2 separate regions of the Homo sapiens genome follow, and region 2 is linked to region 1. The links are contacts of gene promoters, found by promoter capture Hi-C in human tissues and cell types (Jung and others, 2019). All regions are on one chromosome and are shown on one strand. Each heading gives the region's core, a stretch centred on a gene start or on the middle of the fragment in contact. The rest is flanking DNA. Distances are from core to core; before and after follow the strand shown. Region 1 holds the start of PRKCE (protein kinase C epsilon). Region 2 holds the start of EPAS1 (endothelial PAS domain protein 1).

Region 1 (4,986 bases), core at 772-3,271:
CAACAGGGCAGGCTGCGAGAAATTACTGTATTAGGAAGCTCCAGAGCGGTTGCAGGCAAAGGCTTTGCCTGTTCTTAGGAGATGGCCCTAGAACTTTTCGGATCATTTTTGGGACGTGTTTGCTGCACTTGATATCCTGTTTTTCCAGGGGACTGCCTCCTTCCTCGCCTTTAAGCCTTTTTAGGCTTTTAAGCCGCAGGCAATGATAACCTTTACCCACTGAGGAAAAAGTGATCGGGAGGCGCGTTTTAAATTTTGGTTTACACTAACCAGACCCGCCAGATGAACACTCAGCTTACCACAATACCTACAAATTCCCAGACTTGACTTGGCAGAAGGGCGAGGGCGGAGGTTTTCTTTCCCCATTTGCATAATCCCCAGCTCCCCGGCAGCGGAGCCGACCTCTTCACCGCCGCCGTCTTCGCGGGTGTCCCAGCTGGGCCGCGCCCCGGGGCCCAGCGCTCCGGCCCTGCCCTCCCAGGTTCCCAGTCTCGGGCGCGGGGCAGTCCCTCGCCGGCCGCCGGCCCGGTCCCGGCTCCCAGCCGAGGAAATTTTTCCCCAGCAGCCCAGGGCTCTCCTCACGTGACCAGCCGCGGCGGTAGCTTCCAGCGAGAGTTTAAAGGTTACGGAGGAAATTAGCAAGGACACAGCCACTCGCCCCCCGGAGGGCGCGCCCCATTTTCCCGCAGCCCGGACGGCGGCTGTCAGCGCGCTGATCAGTGCCGAAGTCCCCCAAAGGGGCACCGATAAGGACCAGCGCAAACAGGAACAGTCACTTTGCAAAAAATAAGCAGACCACAAACCAAGCCGGGGCTCTACCGAGCTTTCACTTGTCAACAAGTTCTCGCAGCCTGCGAAGTCCAGGACAGATCCCAAAGGGGAGAATGTCCCCAAAGAAAGGCAAGAGAGAAGAACAGAGTTTAAAACTTCACCCGAGCCATGCTTGTCCCTCCCCCTTCCCCCTCCCCCACCGCCGTGGATCACAGCGTCCCGGGACAGAGTGACAGATGGGCCAGAACTCCGCAGACTGCTCCTGCCCGCCGCGGCCCGAGTGGGGGTGGGCAAGGGAAGGGTCCCGAGGCCTCTAGGGCAACAGGGCCCCCTCCACTCCCCCATCCCCGGCTCTAAAAGACAGTGTTGGCCGCAGGGTCCCCGAGAGATACGCGGCCCGGCGGGGCCCATCCATGGCCATCCACGGCCCCCGGCACGCGCATCCAGCCCAGCGCCGCCGCACCCCGGGGTCCCGCGCGGGGTCCCCGCCCCCCGGCTGACCCGCCCGCCGCTGCGACCCCGGGCAGCCTCGCCAGCTCTCCACCGTTGTCTCCTCGGCTCACTTTTTCCGTATTGCTCCCCCAACCGGCAAAACTTTCTATTTCCCCAAACACTGCCGTGCGCGCGCGCGCGTGCACACACACACACTCACACACACACACTCACACACACTGACGTCTTTTGCGCATTTCCTGCATTAGAGGGAGGGAGACTCGCTCGCACACCGACAGAGGGAGAGGAGACCGCGGGGGAGCGCGGGCTGGCGGGCGGCGAGCGAGCGGCAGCCGAGAGCGGGGACGCGGGGAGCGCGGAGGGCGGGCGCCGGCGCCCAGGAGGTGGGGCCGCGCTGAGTCGCAGTCCCTGCCCCGCCGCCGCGCTGCGCACCGCCCGGTGCTGGCCTGCGCCCCCGAGCCGGATCGGCGGCCGCCCGGACTCCGAGCCCGCGCGGATGTGAGATTCCGGGCTCCTGGCGCCTCCCGATCGCCGGCTCCGGCGCGGCGCTGCTTCGCCCAGGAGGCGGCGGCCCCGGCTGGCCGTGGGGCTTGTGGATTTTTAAAAATTTGGCTCCGAGGAGGACCATTTCCTCTCGACATGCATCCCTCCGGATAGACTGAACATCCCTCCGTTCACCCCCCCGCCCCGCGCGGTCAGAGGCAGGCGCTGAGTGTGCGAAGAGGATCCGGGTTGAAATCTGCGCCCCCGGTTCTCGTCCCCGCCCCGTCCCACCGCCCCATCCCCCTCCCGGAGTCGAAATTTCCCGGGATTATGTTTCGGAAAGGTAGGTAAGCGCCGGGCGCGGCGCCCGCTTTCCCGCAGTCCGGAGCCGGAGAGCCAGCGAGGCGGCGAGGCAGCCCCCGCGGCTTGCAGCGGAGCCGACAGCTCGTCTTCTCTTCTGGAGGTGCAGCTGGTGGTCGGGGGGAGAGACTTGCTCCAAACACGGACATCCCCCAGCTCTCCCCCCTCCCTGTTTTCCGTTAGGAACCCGGCGAGGAAATACATGCACTGGCTGAGAATCGCCCGCGCCAGGGCGCAACGCCACAAGGTGTAGGGAGTGTGCGGGGTGGGGCGAAAGGGGACCCAAGAGTCCCTGTGGCTCGGAGTGCCGGGCCGTCGGTTCTTCATTCCTGCCCTCGGGGCAGACGGAGTGACCCCGGCCCCCACTCCCCGCCCCGACCATGGTAGTGTTCAATGGCCTTCTTAAGATCAAAATCTGCGAGGCCGTGAGCTTGAAGCCCACAGCCTGGTCGCTGCGCCATGCGGTGGGACCCCGGCCGCAGACTTTCCTTCTCGACCCCTACATTGCCCTCAATGTGGACGACTCGCGCATCGGCCAAACGGCCACCAAGCAGAAGACCAACAGCCCGGCCTGGCACGACGAGTTCGTCACCGATGTGTGCAACGGACGCAAGATCGAGCTGGCTGTCTTTCACGATGCCCCCATAGGCTACGACGACTTCGTGGCCAACTGCACCATCCAGTTTGAGGAGCTGCTGCAGAACGGGAGCCGCCACTTCGAGGACTGGGTGAGTGCGGCGCCTCCCCGTCATTCCGGGAACCCGGTTGTGGGGTCCCGGGGAAAGACTCGCTGGTCTTGATCGTAGGGCTCCGGGACTTATTGACGACTGGGGTGTGTGTGCCTGTAAGTCTCAGTTTCCTTGGGGAGGTACACTTCACTTCATAGTTGGGGAGAAACAGGCATTGGCGAGGAAGATGAGACTTGGAAAGAGGATGTGGCCCTCTGCTCCCTCTGTGCCCTCCAGTTGGTGGGTGCTGCGGGAGGTTTGCAAACTGGGAGAGCCTGGGCCACTGGTGCTGAAGGTTGGCCGAGGACCCGGCTTTCTTCCGCAGGCGCGTGGTGGGCTGGCTGTGTGTGATTGTGTGTGGGTGGGTCCCTCCGTCCTTGGAAAGGCACGTGGAGCCTTTGACTGAAGGCTTCTTGCACGTCCTGGCTTTGTCCTGCTTAGCCGAGCGAGGAGTTGCTTTATTTTTCCCTCCGAGAGGAAGCTGGCTTGTTTCTATTCTCTTGCATGGTGGTTAGCTCATCTTCTGACATACAAGTAGAAAAAATGTGTTCTCCTCCAGGATGTCTCCTCTATGGTCCCAGAAACATCAGTCGAGCTTGTTTTGTCCAATTCATTGCCCATCCATGCAGAATGAATGTTGCATTTTAAGAAGGGTTCTGCTTGTGGGTAATTGGAAGTCAGTGCTTTGAATCTTATTTAAAGTTATATTGTTTCTCTGTTTTGATTGTCAAGATACTGTGCAATAAAAGACGATTTCTAAGTATGAGATTGAGTTGTTAATTGATTCCATTATTAAACTATTAAGGATTTGGAAAGAGGTCTTGTCTCAATCTACTATAAACCAAATGCATCCAGTCTTGGCACTTGGACAAGCAGAGAGAAGCAAACCTTCATTTTGCTTTTTGTGTTTGTTTTTGGGTTGTTTTTTTTTTTTTTTTTTTTTTTTTCTCTCTTCTTGGAAGGAAGGTATTAATTTAGGATGTGGATTTTTGTGTTTTCAGGTTTGTTACATGTTTCCAGCAAGTACAAGCGTTCCTCTGGAGGTATATGTTTTCAGGGTTCTTTGGTCTACACAAAAAGTGAGAGAGCTATCTAAGCCTCAAAAGTGGTGTAGAGCAATTGCTTTCTATTGAAAACCAGCTAACTTCATGAATGTCCTAGAGGTCAGAGGTTGCACATGGATCACTTTGGCATATCACCTTACATATTTTTTTCAAGGACACGGAGTTTTAGGGAAAAATAAGAGAGAGCCTGTTGTTTTTGTGCTCATGGCTGTGATGTAGTCTGCCTGAAACCATGGTTACGGTTTCACAGGGAAGCTCCAACAAGCCACATGCGTAGAACTCTAGATTTGTGGTTTGCACTTTGGAAAGCAGGCAAACCTTTATGGAATCCCAGAGAACTCCATGCCATTCTATTCTACTTCACAGATGTCCCTCATCTCTGCTTCCTTCAGCCCCCACAACAGAGCTCCCACTCATTCCCCATTTCTTTTCCATGCATGGCCTTTGGGCCCTTTCCTCATGAATGCAGTGCATATGAGAGGGGGAGTGGAAGGGATAACTAATTTCAGAGGTAGACCTTGACTCTGAAAACCTGTGATTTTGGAGTTGTTGTTTTTGGACAGGAAGGGGGTGGAAAAAACTTGACGCTGGTAGCTAGGAGATGGGAGCCTTTTGCAGTGTATGCAGATGAGGGGCTTGGACAGTGGGGCAGAGAGCAGGGATGAGGAGCAGCAGGTCTGCATTTATCCATAGAACAGATGTTGGTTGGAGGGAGAGTGTCTTTGTATCTCTGGTGATGCTTCACTGGGGCACACCCCAAACTCTGGGAGCTTCAGGACACTGTCCCCACCTTCATCCCTCCTAGTGAAGCATGCAGTGGGAACTTGTTTGGTTATCATCCTCTAAGGTTCTCAAATTCATGTTGGATTTGGCCCTAGGCCAGATCATCTAGTGCACAGGCAAGTTTTACAGATGAGGACATTGAGTTCCAGAGAAGCTAGTTGGGGACCGAGGGTCACATGACAAGCAAAGGTGGGTTGGAAGTAGGGCCCTCACCGCCTGTTGCCCATGGCTTGTCTGATGGGGAGCCGAGCCTGCCCATCTGGCCTCCCAGCCTATTCTCCCTGCAGATCCATGTGCTGTGTCCCTGACATTTTTATTGTACTTGATAACTTCATCTCTTTTGC
Region 2 (4,596 bases), core at 136-2,635, 650 kb after region 1:
AAAAAAAGTATTTCCCAATTCTTCGTCAGTTTTTGCCCTCTCCCCACTTCGCCTTCTCCAGGCTCCTGAAAAGTATCTCCCCCAACCCTTTCTGTGTACACGGGGAAAACACGTGTTCATTTTTATTATGGCGCTGAAACCTACCCTTCTCTTCAAATCGCTTCTGTAGATCGTTCTAGTATAAAATGTGGCAAGAGGCTAAAGGGAGAGATATAGACCAGTTCTTTGGCCCTCGCTTTCCAACTTCAAGTTACACCTGTGAAACTCATGGGTCCTTCCACAGCCTTCAAAAACTAAGGGCGTCCCCTGTCCTCTCCCCAGATGTCCCTTCCCCATCGCCGGTAGCGAGTGGGAGACAGCTCAGCGCGGGGCAGGGGAGCACTGGGCCCGGAGATGGAAGGCAGCGTCAAAAGCGCCGCTGGAAAATCCCTGAGCGCTAACCGTTGCCTGTGTGAGCCCTTAAATCTACAAATTTCCAACACCTGTAGCCTTTGGGTTTCCCAGGACTTCCATCGACCCTGGCGGCAGAGAGGGCAGGCCTGAGATGCAGTGACTTGAGGGCACATGGCCAACTCTTGTCACTCCAAGATCACACTGGGGAACCAGACTGACTTCTCCAATTCTGAACTCGCCCCGGCCTCGGGCGGCTCAAAGGGCCTCCTCTGCCGCATCCCCGCCAAAACCAAACCGCCTGGCACAAGCCGGTAAGCAACCACCCTGCTGGGAGAGGGAAGGAAGAGTAGGCGCAGCCCTAGATCAATTTCCTTGCACTGCTTCTCCCAGACGGTCAAGTCAGCTGCGTCCCACCGAAAAGGGCGCATCGCCCACGCCCGAAACGCAGCCGCTGGGGGCCGAGAAATTATCCCCACCTGGCCCGAGGGCCAGGGACGCAGGAGCGCAGCAGCGTGGAGGGGCTCCGCGCTGGCCCGGCGCTGCCCGCGGTCCTGCCCTCGTTCCAAGGGCACGGCGCCGGTACGAGGACACCGACGCTGTGGCGCAACTGCCGTCCCCCGCAGCAATCCCGGAGCCCGGCTCCCGGCCGCCCCTCGGCCCTGCGCAGGCTGCCTCTCCCCGACGCGGAGTCCCACCCCGCTACCCGCCGCCCAGACGACCTCATAAACAAGTCCTCGAAGTGCGGAGGCAGGAGGCGGGGCGCAGCGCGGGGGCAGGAGGCGGGCCAGGGTCAGGGCAGAGGCTGCGGCCGCGCGTCCCCATTGGCCGGGACGCAGTGAGCCGCCCGGAGCTCGGCGCGGGCGGGGCCTGCCGGCGCGTGCCCGCCCACACACCCGCGCCGGTGCCCGCCCCCCGCCCTCCGCGCCCGCCCCGTGCCCGCCCCAAGCCGGCCGACGGAGTTTTTAAAGTGGGCTGCCGGCCGCGGGAGCTTTACACTCGCGAGCGGACCGCCACACGGGTCCGGTGCCCGCTGCGCTTCCGCCCCAGCGCTCCTGAGGCGGCCGTACAATCCTCGGCAGTGTCCTGAGACTGTATGGTCAGCTCAGCCCGGCCTCCGACTCCTTCCGACTCCCAGCATTCGAGCCACTTTTTTTTTTCTTTGAAAACTCAGAAAAGTGACTCCTTTTCCAGGGAAAAAGGAACTTGGGTTCCCTTCTCTCCGTCCTCTTTTCGGGTCTGACAGCCTCCACCCACTCCTTCCCCGGACCCCGCCTCCGCGCGCAGGTTCCTCCCAGTCACCTTTCTCCACCCCCGCCCCCGCACCTAGCCCGCCGCGCGCCACCTTCCACCTGACTGCGCGGGGCGCTCGGGACCTGCGCGCACCTCGGACCTTCACCACCCGCCCGGGCCGCGGGGAGCGGACGAGGGCCACAGCCCCCCACCCGCCAGGGAGCCCAGGTGCTCGGCGTCTGAACGTCTCAAAGGGCCACAGCGACAATGACAGCTGACAAGGAGAAGAAAAGGTAAGCGGGCGTCCGGGCCGATCAGGGGGCCGGTCCGAGGCCAGGGCCGGGCTGCGCGGGGCAGGCGCGACCGAGAGTGGTTGGGAGAAGAGTGCTGAGAGGTCTTCGGAGCTCGAGGCTCGGTTTGGAGGGCTGTGAGGGGGAGAGCATGTGCCCGGTTTGGGGGCGCGGATCAGCAGCTTTGCAGTGGAGACTTCTGCGGCTCGGAGGAGTCGGGGATTTGCGCGCACGGCGAGGCCAGGAGGCCGAGGGAGATGGCCTGGAGGTCGGAGGTGCTTCCGCGGTGCCTTTGAAAATCTCCCAGCCGCCCCGCAGCAGATTACCGTGGCCACCGGCGCTTGGAAATGTTTGTGGGTGCATGTCCTCGACTTTCTCTGGTCTCTCATTTTGGGGCAGCATCCACGTCTCTATTTTTCTCTGGATTCGCGGAGTCCTTCCAAATGCGCTCCTGTGCCCGCGCCGCGGCCCAAGTGGGCAAAGGGGGGCGGGAGGCGGAGAGCGGCTCAGGGACACGATCCTACCGAGGAGCCAGGACCCTTCAGAGCGCCCCGCTGCCGGGCTCCAGACCCCACCGAAGGTTGGAGAACCCACTTCCTCGTGCCGCACCTTGACTCTGGGGAGAGTAGGTAGTGAGTGACCTGGATTGCCCTGCGGGGGCAGATGGTTCGGTGTGTAGGAAGCGGACGGCAACACTGGATGTCCCTGGCAGGTCCGGGTGTCTGTCTCCGAAGAGGACAGAGAAGGGCAGCCACGATCTGCCCGCCTGCCCTCGCGAGCCTCTCGGCACTGGGTGAGAGGCAACTCTGGCCATTTCTTGCTGCCCTCTCGCCCTCTCCCGGCCGCTCCCAGTCCAGCCGGGCCCGGCGCTACCCGAGCGAGGGTTCGAGCCCTCTGCGCGGCCGCGCAGAAGCAGGCAGGGCCTCAACTTCTGCAAATGTGTGCGGCTCGCCGCCTGTCCCCTTTCTCCTCCTGTCTCCACCCGTGCGGCCCCAGTGGCCTGGAGCTTCCAGCCCCGCGCTTGGCCGCGGCTTGGCGAGGCTATGCTGCGGGAAGCTGGAATCCAACGCGCGGCCGGCTGAACCGCCTGAGCCGCGGGAAACCAGCGGCGGAGCGGCGGTATAGAGGTGCGAGGATGAGGAGGACCGACTCGCTAAGGGAGGGAGGTGACTGGCCGGGAGGGCTCACTGCCGAGGTTGATTTGCTCTTGTTCCAACTTCCACTACGGGACTGGAGCCAGAAACCGTGTATCCTCCGGTCGAAAGCAGCGGTTCCCACCTCGGGGCACCGATAAGGATTTGATAAACGGGAGCGAATCGCGCCTGTCCTGGCTCGGCGCCCGGGCCCTTCACTGCGGGATCGCTAGGGGAGGGGATTGGGCCCTGCTCCCCTTTCCTGGCCGTAGTCCCCCCTTTCTCGTCACCGTCGCGCCCTCAGACCCAAGACAAGTGAGGGAGCCCTGAGACTGCAGCCGGCACATTCCCAGGGCCCTCGGAGCAGTCCTGGGGTTCCATGTCTTTTGAAGGCAGCAGAGCAAGGAAAAGACTCTTAAGATTCCAGTGCGTTTTGTAAAAACCAATCATAATGCTAATAATGACTGAACCATCGAAAAGCAAAGTTATAGACAGCGCCTGCAGACGCTTTCGGGTCCGGAGCCGGGGAGGGAACTTGTGTATTTTACAACTGCGATGCCTATCGGGAATGTGGCAATCGCCGAGGTGGGGCCTGACAGTAATCTTGACAAATGTGTGAAGTGTCAGCTCCTCCTGCGCTCCTTAGCGCCGGGTTTTGTGCAGTTTTGTACCGTATATACCGAGAAACTTGGGAGCAGGGGAAAAATGATTTCGACACACCCAGCTACAGTACCTGGTTCGTTAGCGGACTGTTGGAAAGAGAGAAGAAGCGGGAATGGGAGCGGGAAGAACGTTGCGTAATTAGACTCCCAATTATTGGCGAGAGCGGCCGCTTTAAGAACCACTGTGGGGACTGCCTGCGAAACGCCTTGGAGGCCGCTGTGTGAGCTGCGGCTCCGGGCTGGTGGCCACGCGAGGGTGTCCGCCCTCTTCGACCTGCCTGGATTTTTGTGCTGCAGAATGGCAGGGCAAACAGCGTGTCCTTCACCATCTAGAGCCCCTTAAGGGGTTGTCCAATTCCTATTGGGCTAATCAGTTTGAGACTCATTTACTTTTCGTGCCTGGGTCTGTTTGCTGGCTGCAGGCTTCTTTAGGGACCAAGATGTAATTAAAATATGTGAACCAATACATTGAAAGTTGGTGTTGTCATGTAAGTGACTGCTGTAGCTTTTCTGAGTGCCTCACAAGGGCGATGTGACAGTGAGGGGGCTCTCTGCTGATGATTCTGCCCACTAGTTCTTACATTTTGTGTTTCTTTGGTTTAGCAGAGCAGTTTCTTCCCCCAAATGCAATATGGGCAGAACATTTGGAATATTCGTTCTAACAATGGCCCGTCAAGAAGTGGGCAGATGATTTTGTCCCAGAATGTTCACACGTCGATAAATATGTTAATGTTTAATAATAAAGAGTTTGCTTTCTAAATGTTAGTTGGCTGGGTGTCCTTGATAGTACCAGTTTTGGTGGTAGTGGGCATTTGCGGTGACATCACAGATGTCAGAAACTGAAGCCTGGTGGGTGGGGGTACTGCACTTTCACTCACCTTTTTGTGC

What was found. Contacts are between HindIII fragments. The study calls those that stand out against the background at their distance.
Region 2: a contact is called between the fragment with the promoter of EPAS1 here and the fragment with the promoter of PRKCE in region 1, in 1 of the 25 tissues and cell types used here (H1 embryonic stem cells).

Annotation. Positions count from the first base shown.
Region 1 is chr2:45,649,654-45,654,639 of GRCh38, forward strand. It overlaps PRKCE (protein kinase C epsilon), which reads left to right and starts at 2,022. Exons shown (of 15, transcript NM_005400.3): 1 at 2,022-2,795. The coding sequence starts at 2,448. LOC102724965 (a long non-coding RNA gene) reads right to left here and starts at 1,562. Exons shown (of 2, transcript XR_005647119.2): 1 at 312-1,562. RefSeq lists silencers at 452-551, 1,182-1,281, 1,452-1,921 and enhancers at 1,297-1,591, 2,080-2,700. The HindIII fragment of the contact is 9,634 bases long and covers 1-4,986 here.
Region 2 is chr2:46,296,022-46,300,617 of GRCh38, forward strand. It overlaps EPAS1 (endothelial PAS domain protein 1), which reads left to right and starts at 1,386. Exons shown (of 16, transcript NM_001430.5): 1 at 1,386-1,916. The coding sequence starts at 1,891. RefSeq lists silencers at 840-1,419, 1,650-1,979. The HindIII fragment of the contact is 17,489 bases long and covers 1-4,596 here.